Linked DNA regions of Homo sapiens: region 2 is linked to region 1. Evidence: promoter capture Hi-C in human tissues and cell types (Jung and others, 2019). All regions are on one chromosome and are shown on one strand. Each heading gives the region's core, a stretch centred on a gene start or on the middle of the fragment in contact. The rest is flanking DNA. Distances are from core to core; before and after follow the strand shown. Region 1 holds the start of MX2 (MX dynamin like GTPase 2). Region 2 overlaps FAM3B (FAM3 metabolism regulating signaling molecule B).

What was found. Contacts are between HindIII fragments. The study calls those that stand out against the background at their distance.
Region 2: a fragment that was not itself captured here is called in contact with the fragment with the promoter of MX2 in region 1 in 1 of the 25 tissues and cell types used here (spleen).

The regions. Positions count from the first base shown.
Region 1 is chr21:41,360,131-41,364,559 of GRCh38, forward strand. It overlaps MX2 (MX dynamin like GTPase 2), which reads left to right and starts at 1,897. Exons shown (of 14, transcript NM_002463.2): 1 at 1,897-1,925. RefSeq lists enhancers at 1-39, 1,322-1,581, 1,602-2,441. The HindIII fragment of the contact is 34,961 bases long and covers 1-4,429 here.
Region 2 is chr21:41,319,632-41,324,060 of GRCh38, forward strand. FAM3B (FAM3 metabolism regulating signaling molecule B) reads left to right here. Exons shown (of 8, transcript NM_058186.4): 2 at 3,292-3,435. Among named protein-coding and RNA genes, the nearest start is that of FAM3B, 5.0 kb to the left of the region's middle. The HindIII fragment of the contact is 6,637 bases long and covers 1-4,429 here.

The sequences.
Region 1 (4,429 bases), core at 647-3,146:
TTGTCCTGTTAATTCAGGAAAGCATTTGCTTGATCTTTCCTTCTGTGATTGGAGAGGCCATGGGAGAGTGGATGCATGCTGGCTCTGGATGGCTCCAGGTGCTGCAGGTGCTTCCAGGTGGCCAGGAACTTCATCAGCACACAGAGGCGCTGGCGCTTTCCATAGAGTCAGCGTGCCAGGGCAGGAGGCGGGCACTGGGGCTTCTGGACTTCGCCTCTTTACCAAGCTGCACACTGTAACGCTCCCTGATGTGGAGCTGAGGGAAGAGCTCCGCCCAGCGGCTGTGACCGAGGCCTGAGCAGCAGCATCTTTTCTGGCCCCGGCCCCTGTGCTTGGATGCTGCGTGGGACATTCATTCACCCTCAGGGCTTTAGTGCTCAGAACGCAAGAACCCTGTCCTTGAAGTTTGCATGCGCAGGCACCTCTGGTCCTTCCCAGGGCTGCTGGTGAGGGGCGTGCAGGAGGGGGATGCTGCCTTGACAGAGGGTGGAGGGTCCCCTGAGCTGGCCCGAGCTGCTCGTGTCCCTCTGTCCGGCTTCTCTGAGGCCTTTCTTTGTGCCTTCCTTGAAGCAGTAGGCCGGCCCAGGCCCTGTTGTGAAAGACATTCCTAGTGAAACCGAATGTCACATCACGCTGCCAAGTCTGAGATTCACATTCCTCCCCTCACTCCTCAGCCTCTGTCCGCCCGGGCTCTTGGGAAGAGAAGTGGTTCAGGGATAGGTGATCCTGACGATGATCTCCTGGTGTTAATATTTCTAATGCCAAGGTTTTGAAAAACATGTTAAGTTTCTAAATATCTTCCGTAAAGTTAAGCCTGCACTCAAGGGAAGTCACTACAATGACTTAGCCAAGAGGAGCTCAGGAGTTTTTTTAAACGTATAGTGTTGATGTCTGGGAGAGGATCACGGGTGGATAGGAGAGCTGAGAGCCTGCTTCCTCCCTCCCAGCCATCACTGCCAGTCCTTGAGAGGCTTGGTCCCCTCCCCGGTGTCTGGAGGGCTCCTCCTGGAGGTTCCCAGACCTCTTGGCTCTGGTGATGGGAATGCCTGGCCCTCCTTGACTTTGGTCACAGAGCAGGAAGCCTTAGGGAGCATGCGGTTGTGCACCTTCACTTTTGCAGGTGAAAAGTAACTGAGGACCAGAAAGATGACATGCAGCTGGCTCAGGGCTGAGTTCCGGAGCCTGGGGTTTGTCCTGGGGCCTCCTTATCTCCAATGGGAAGAAAACCGTCTTGGTTTTGCGGCGGGGACCTCAGGCACGGGTGCTTGGAGAAAGCTGTTGACCCTCCTTCTTTGGGTTTTCCGCACCTAATGAGGGGAGAGGTGACATTTGTCAGGTGCGGCTCAGGCATGAAGCTAAGCAGGACAGCTCAGAGCGTCCAGATCATGTACCTGAGAGCATGTCCTCGGCTGTAACAGGAGTGCATCTGTGAGGCCCGATACACGAACCACACGTGGCTATTCATTCAAATTACATGGAGTTCGAAGTCCAGTTCCTTGGTCGCAGTAGTCACATTTCAGAGCCACACAGGTGGTACTGGATGGCACTGTCAGGGCAGAACCTTCCAGTGACTGAGCCACTCTGAGCTGCCCCCATGCCAGCCTCCCCTGGAATCTGTTAGCAATGCTGATTCTCAGGCCCAGCCCAGACCTGACAGATCAGACTCTCTGGCGGGGGTGGGGGGACAGCCGCCCCGTCTCCACAGCTCTCCCAGGATTCGGATGCAGCTGGAGTTTGGGGACCACTCTGTGAGTCATCTGGAGAGCACGCTGATAACTCAGTTTCATTTCTGTGGCCAGATCAAGTAGTTTCATTTCTCTCCCTGTTTGTTGATGACGGAGCAGGGGAGGGAGTGGTTCATATGCCACATAAAAGTGAAGTGGAGGAAAGGGAAGAGATGATTTCTCCATCCTGAACGTGCAGCGGTAAGAGCGGGGCCGGTGCAGGGAGGGCTGCTTTGTGTCTGATGCACAGCAGATGCGTGTTTAAAAAATATTTCCTGAGTAACGTGACATCTGCTTGGTGAATGTGGCTTGTGCTGGGAGGCAGGAGCCACAAAGATAAGATTCTGGTGTGAGGAGCAGAAAGGGCCCATGTTGCCACCAGCCCACAGTAGCCTTGTGCACAGACAAAGAGGCTCTGGAGGGGAAGTGGCTGGCCCTGGGGACAGGGTGGCCTCCATCCTGATCTGGCCAAAAGTCGGGTGGACGCAAAGGGGTGGTTTTTAGGACAGCTTTGCTCAGCGTCCTACAAAGTCTGGGGGTTGAGTAAGGAGCTTTGTGCCCGAAAAGTCGTCTCGGAGGGTTTCAAGTGTTCCTTCTTTTGTGGTATTTGTGATGCTCTGACGTAACCTTAGTGACGGTGATATGCTGGGAAATTGGCTCTCATGGGGCGGGGCAGGGCAGAGGGTGGTGCCTGATTTCTAGCCTTTGCCGATTCTCTTCCGTTCTCATGGTGTGAATGCTCCCACCGTGGCCAGTTCCCAGCCAGTAGGGGCCAACTCCAGCACTCTGGACCACTGCACCCTGGATCGCCTGCACTCTGGGGGCTGAAGTCCATTTTATAATTGATATAGAGCGGAAAGGAGACATGGTGGTATTGATGACGCAGTTTTTTTTTCTTTTTTTTTTTTTTTTTTTTTTTTTTGAGAGAAGTTCTCGTTCTGTTCCCCAGGCTGGAGTGCAGTGGCGTGATCATGGCTCACTGCAGTCTCAAGCTCCCGGGCTCAAGGGATCCTCCCACCTCAGCCTCCCAAGTAGCTGGGACTACAGGTGTGCACCACCACACCTGGTTAATTTTATTTCTTTTTGTAGAGACAGGGGCTCTCTATGTTGCCCAGGCTGGTCTCAAACTCACTGGCTCAAGAAGTCCTTACGCCTCAACCTCCCAAAGCACTGGGATTACAGGCGTAAGCCACCCCATTCGGCTTTGATGACACCTTTTGAACACTGTTCTTTCTCATTTTGTGTTTAGAATGTTGTCTCTAGCTGTTTAAAAAGATCAGGATTCCAAGCTATCTTTCCTCGCACCCTCTCCTCCGTTTACTCTGCTCTACTTCCCAGCCCCGCGCCAACCCCTGAAGCACTTTTGACTCCCTTCGGATGTACAATTTTTTTTTCTTTTTCTTTTTTGAGACAGGGTCTTCCTGCTCTGTTTCCCAGGCTGGAGTGCAATGGTACCATCATAGCTCACTGCAGCCTTAAACTTCCGGGCTCAAGTGATCCTCCTGCCTCGGCCTCCCAATGCATTGGGATTACAGGTGTGAGTCCCTGCGTCTGGCCAGGATGTATGTGAGCTTTATTTAGGTTTAGCCCCTGCCCTAGAATGCAAGCTCCCCCAGAGATCTTTGTCTGCCTGACTCGATATGTATCTCAAGGACTTAGTGCTCAATATATATCTTTGAGTGGGTGAAAAACAAGCGGTCTTAAAAAGAAAGGAGGTGAGCCCGGGGAGATAAGGTCGCATTCAGTGCCAGTGCTTGGTCAGCCATGACCCTGCACCATGCGAGTGACATTGGGACTGGAGCAAAGGGACACAGCAGAGTGGCCCCTGGTGCCCAGGACCCGGCAGAGCTCTCGGACTGGTTGCAAGCCAGCAATAGTGGCTATGCCCGTGTGGGAGACGCAGCTTGCCTTAGACTTCAGCGGGAACCACCATGTCCGGCACAGCCATTTCCATCCTTCCCAGGGGTGCTTACGTGATCCTGGCAGTCTCAGTCAAACTTCCAAACTCAGCAGGGAATGTGTGTGCTTGTCCTCCAATCTCAACACCCTGGGATGCAGTGTCAGGTGCAGGTCAGAGACAGCAGTGGAGACCCGATTCCCAGCCCTGGGCTGGGGCCCCCACAAGGCCTCCAGCATCTCCCCATGGCCCAGTTTCCTCATCTGCAGGACAGGCTCTCTTGAGAATTTGGGGGGATGATAGACCCAAAAGCATTCTGGAGCCAGAGGCTTCTGCCTTCGTCGGGGGCATCAGGGAGTGTCAGTCATGAATTCACCATGACTTCTGACCACCTCTGCCTGGACTCCCTCACCTCAGTGCTGCCTAAGCTGGGTAACCACCAGCTTCCTGGGCCTTCACCCCGCAGGGCCTTCCTCTCCAGTGATGCGCCTGGAAAGAGGGATTTCTCTTTGCAAAGGTCTCTGGAATTGCCAAGTTATGGCTTTAAGCATATGTAGGGAAACTCCCTCCCCTTTGCACTTTTGGAGTTTTTTTCCAGCCCTCAATAGAAATCAATACAGTGACCAGGCTGCCCTTTTCACCACACTCTCAGGCTCCTGAGGACCCTGGTGGAAGATGGACTAAGCACATCCTGGGCATCGGGGACAGGCACCGGCTCCTCAAGCGTGGACAGGGACAGGGATGGGGCGGGGCAGCGCTGCAGGAGGTGGGGCCTGGGCTGATTTTCTTGCTGTACTACTTTCAGTCA
Region 2 (4,429 bases), core at 1,318-3,817, 40 kb before region 1:
AGCTTCAGCGCTGATTCTTCCCTACTGCCTGGTGTCTGAGCCTCTGTCTTGACAGGCTGCCTCGGCTCCTGCCCATCCTGCTTTCATCCCCAGGACTGAGCTCTGATTGCTGGTGTCCAACCCACAGAGAGGCTGTGCCACAGCTCGCCCGGTGCTATGTTGGGGCTGAATTGTGCCTTCCCCCTGCCAACCCCCCAACCCCATTTACATGTTGTAGTCCTAACCCCTGCCCAGTACCTCAGAATGTGACTGGATCTGGAGATAGGGTCGTTAAAGAGCTATTTCAGATATAGTGAGGTCATCAGGGTGAGCCCTGATCCAATCTGACTGGTGTCCTTATAAGAAGAGGAGATGAGGACACCCACAGAGGCCCTGTGAGGACACAGGGAGAAGATGCCATCCACAAGCCAAGGAGAGAGGCTCAGAGGAAACTTGATCTTGGACTTCCAGCCTCCAGAATCTTGAGAAAATAAATTTCAATTTCAATTTTTTTTTAAGAGATGATGTCTCGCTGTCATCCAGGCTGGAGTGCAATATTGCAATCGTAGCTCACTGCAACCTCAAAGTTCTGGGCTCAGGCAATCCTCCTGCCTCAGCCTCCTGTGTAATTGGGACTACAGGTCTGTGCCACCACACCTGACTATTCTTTTTAAAATTTTTTGTAGACATGAGGTCTCATTATGTTGCCCAGGCTGGTCTCAAACTCCTGAGATCAAGCCATCCCTCCACCTTGGCCTCCCAAAGTGCTGGGATTACAGGCGTGAGCCAACGAGCCCAGCCGAAATTTCTATTGTTGAAGCCACCCAGTTGGTGTTAATTTGTTACAGCAGCCTGAGGAAATGATGCTGCCTGCCTGGATTTTGTCTGTCACCTCCTGGCTACTATGTCCTGCCCTCCCTCTAGCGGCTGGGATACTTCCATGACTTTGTGCTAGACCTGAGCACAGGCTGCTGGTTCAGCTCATCACCCATCTTCTGATGATGTCCCGATCCCAGTGCTGGCGGCTGGATCTGCCTCCCACCCAGGAGGTGGTTCAGACTCTAGATCATGGCTTCTCCCAGCCAGCTGCATGCTGCACTCCAGATTGTCCCCAGCCTAGAGGTCATTGGATGCATCCCTCACCCAAAGCACAGATACTCTCTAGTCTTCCTGGGAGTCCTGAAAAGTGTCCCGGAAGAGAGCTCCCTGCCGCATCAGGACCCGCCATGGGCTACCCTTCTTCTTGTGAGGACACTTGGCTTATTTATTCTCCGTTTTCTTCTCTGTCGTGTCCACATGTTTGTTTTTGTTCAGCTGGGGCCACCGTTACCTATTCCTTCATGTAGCTGCTTGTTACACATTCAAAAGGTAAATAATGTTCCTTTTCAGCCTTCTCCAAGCTAAACAGCAGCTTGTTGCTCAGGATCTCAGGTGTGGCGTGTTGTCTAGAAGAGCCCCTGAACATTGTCTGGTTAGCCAGTTTCCTTCTCCAAATACAACACTTGGATGAAACAGTCCAGCTACGACCCACATGCACAGAATACAGGGCACGGCCTTTTCCTTTGAACGTGTTCTGCTGCTGTCTTAGCCCACTCTGCACTCTGTTCATCCAACAGAATTTTCTGGAAAATCAGCGACCCACGCGGTGTCACAGGCATGCTGGGTGGCCCTGGAGGGAAGCATCTGTGGTGTCTGTGTGGGCGCTGTGGCTGGGCTGTGTAGGGGAGAGCACCCTCTAGGCAGAGATCACTCCTGCAGAGGAGTGAGCCCGGGAGTGCAGCGCCCGCAGGTGGCTGAGCACAACCGTTGGCGCAGCTGCGGGAGAGGGGCCTGCAAGCCTGCACCTGTCTCATTTTGTTTTCTGTGTCTGGTTTATCTGCTTTGAGATGACCTTCCAGTCCTGAAAACTGCACTGATCACACTGCCTTGGGCCTCTCCCCAGAGGAAACCACCTGTGCTTACTAGTCTAACAATCTTAGCAGTTTGGAAATTCGAAATTTAAAAATGGTGTTGAAATATGCACTCAAAAAAGCAAAACAAAACCAAACCCCAAGGCTAACCAGAAACATCGCGTTCTATCCCCATGGCTCCCTCTGCTGAAGCGCTGGGCCTCCAAGCAATAGCACACGCTGCCTTGGCGCAGCATAGCCGGTGCATGGGTCGGGGACAGCTGCGCTCCTGAGAAAGGAAGGATGATCTCTAGGTGCTGGAAGTCAAGCTGAGGTCCAGAACTGCACCCCGGGTGGGGCCCATTGTCAGGCCCTTCAGACTTGACATTCCCTTCTCTTCCTTTCCTTTTTCCTCCTTTCCTCATTTCCCCTTCACTTCCTTCCTTCTTTCCTCCCTGTCTCTCTCCCTCCTTCCCTCCTTCTCTTACTTCTTAGGACTGTCCCTATTAGCACATATTTAAATGCACTGGGCACATACCCCAGTACCCATCCTACTCAGGGCCTGTGGTTATCCCTGCATCGTAGCAATCTGGGTAAGCAAACTGCTGAATAAGTTCTGATCTATGCTATATTTAGGGAGCAAACTCTAAAAGCCCTGGCCATGGGTTGCCAATGAAAAGACAGAGAGCCACCCCCCAGGCCTCTGGTGACCCAGGAGGAGATCAATGCCTTTTCCTTGGAAATCGTGCCACTCATGTCAAACAAGAGAAGTAAGATATTGTTGCCAATCAACCAGAAAGATATCTCCACGGACTTTCTGTCACTGGGAACCTTGACTGGCCCAGCAGGCACATCCGGGATGATAGAACAGGTTTGGGGACTTTTTCCCAGTATTACGGGGCCAGGCCTTGATCCAGCAGGAATACGTTGCATGCTTGCTGGGCATCGGCTACTATTCCCAGTGCTGGTGATATGGAAATCAACAAAACAGACAGAGCTTTACCCCTGAAGGTTTCAATGTAATTGCAGGAGCGTGCTCAAATCCAGTTGTGTCTCACAAAGGGAATGAGGCGCTTTTGTTTTTTCAGGTTCACGTTGGGCATGCTGGCTCACAAGGTGCTTGATTAGCTGCTTTGACATAAACGTTCAAGGACGTTTGTTGGTTAAGTTAAGACCTAAACCAACAGCAAATACAACTTGCCCTGGAAAGCATTCCTGTCTTGTTTGTATTCTCTGATACTGTCTACTTCAAAGGTCCTGACACCGCCTCCCACCCTGGGAGCCTCCTCCCAGGAGCACAGTGCCTATAGCGCAGTCCCCTGACACTGGGCCGGGATGAAAAGCCACAGGGGGGATGGGGAGGGCCAAGGGCCAGGGCCGCCACCAAGTCGTTCACAGCAGCTGCTTGGTGTCCTCTCTGCAGGCCTGCTCAAGGTGGTGTTCGTGGTCTTCGCCTCCTTGTGTGCCTGGTATTCGGGGTACCTGCTCGCAGAGCTCATTCCAGATGCACCCCTGTCCAGTGCTGCCTATAGCATCCGCAGCATCGGGGAGAGGCCTGTCCTCAAAGGTGAGTGCCGTGCTTGGGGCAGACGGCTGCCTTCATGGCTTGTGTGCAGAGGGAGGAGTGGTGGTTTCTGTCCCAGCTGGAGGCTGGGGGGCCCTGACGGCTTTATATCAGGAAGGAGGAGGAGAGAAGCATTTTGCAGTTACTCATTTAGGTCCCACGCCATTCCAAGGCACGTGCCGCTGCTGACCCCATGTGAGACTAGAACAGTGTGGCTTCTGGTTACCAGCACAAACCTGCAGCCAGACCTTGAACTGTGCTCTTTCCGCCCAGATCTTGGCTTCCTCCCCTGGGAAGCACAGGAGGGTCCAGGTTCTGAGATCCCGAATCATTTTAAGGTTTCTGTCGGACTGAAGAGCTGTTGGAAAATCTTCTGTAAAGTCTTGGGAAGCAAAAGCTAGTAATTGAGTAGATGTGAAAGAAAGGGCAGACATTGTATGTCGGTGAACACACGGCCTCAACCATCAGCTTAGGAAAGGCCCAGCTCTCTGTAGGGCGGCTGCTTTCTGTCCTTCCCCACAATCAAGGTGGGTTTTCTGAGAGCCTGCTGTGTGCTGGGCATGTCCAGGAGCTAAGGAGAGACGGAGGACAAGCCCACGAGGTCCCTGCCCCTTTGGCACTGATACCCTAGTGAGGGGAGGTGACAGCTTAACGCATGAACAAATGAGATTCGAGAGAGGATGGGTGGGGAAAGCCTCTGAGAAGGAGGTGACAATTGAGAAGCATCTCAGTGAAGCAAGGGAGTGGGCCATGCTGGGTTCTGAGGGCTGTGTGCCAGTTTGGGAGCATCATGACTTAGTCTACCCAGATTACTGTAAGAGAACACCATAGACTGGGGGCCTTATAAACAACGCATTTATTTCTGACAGTGTTGGAGGCTGGGAAGTTCAAGATCAAGGTACCCGCAGATTTCATGTCTGGTGGAGACCTGCATTCTGCTTCATGGATGGCTCCTTCTGGCAAACGAGGTCTCTGAAGCTCCTTTTATAAGGGCACT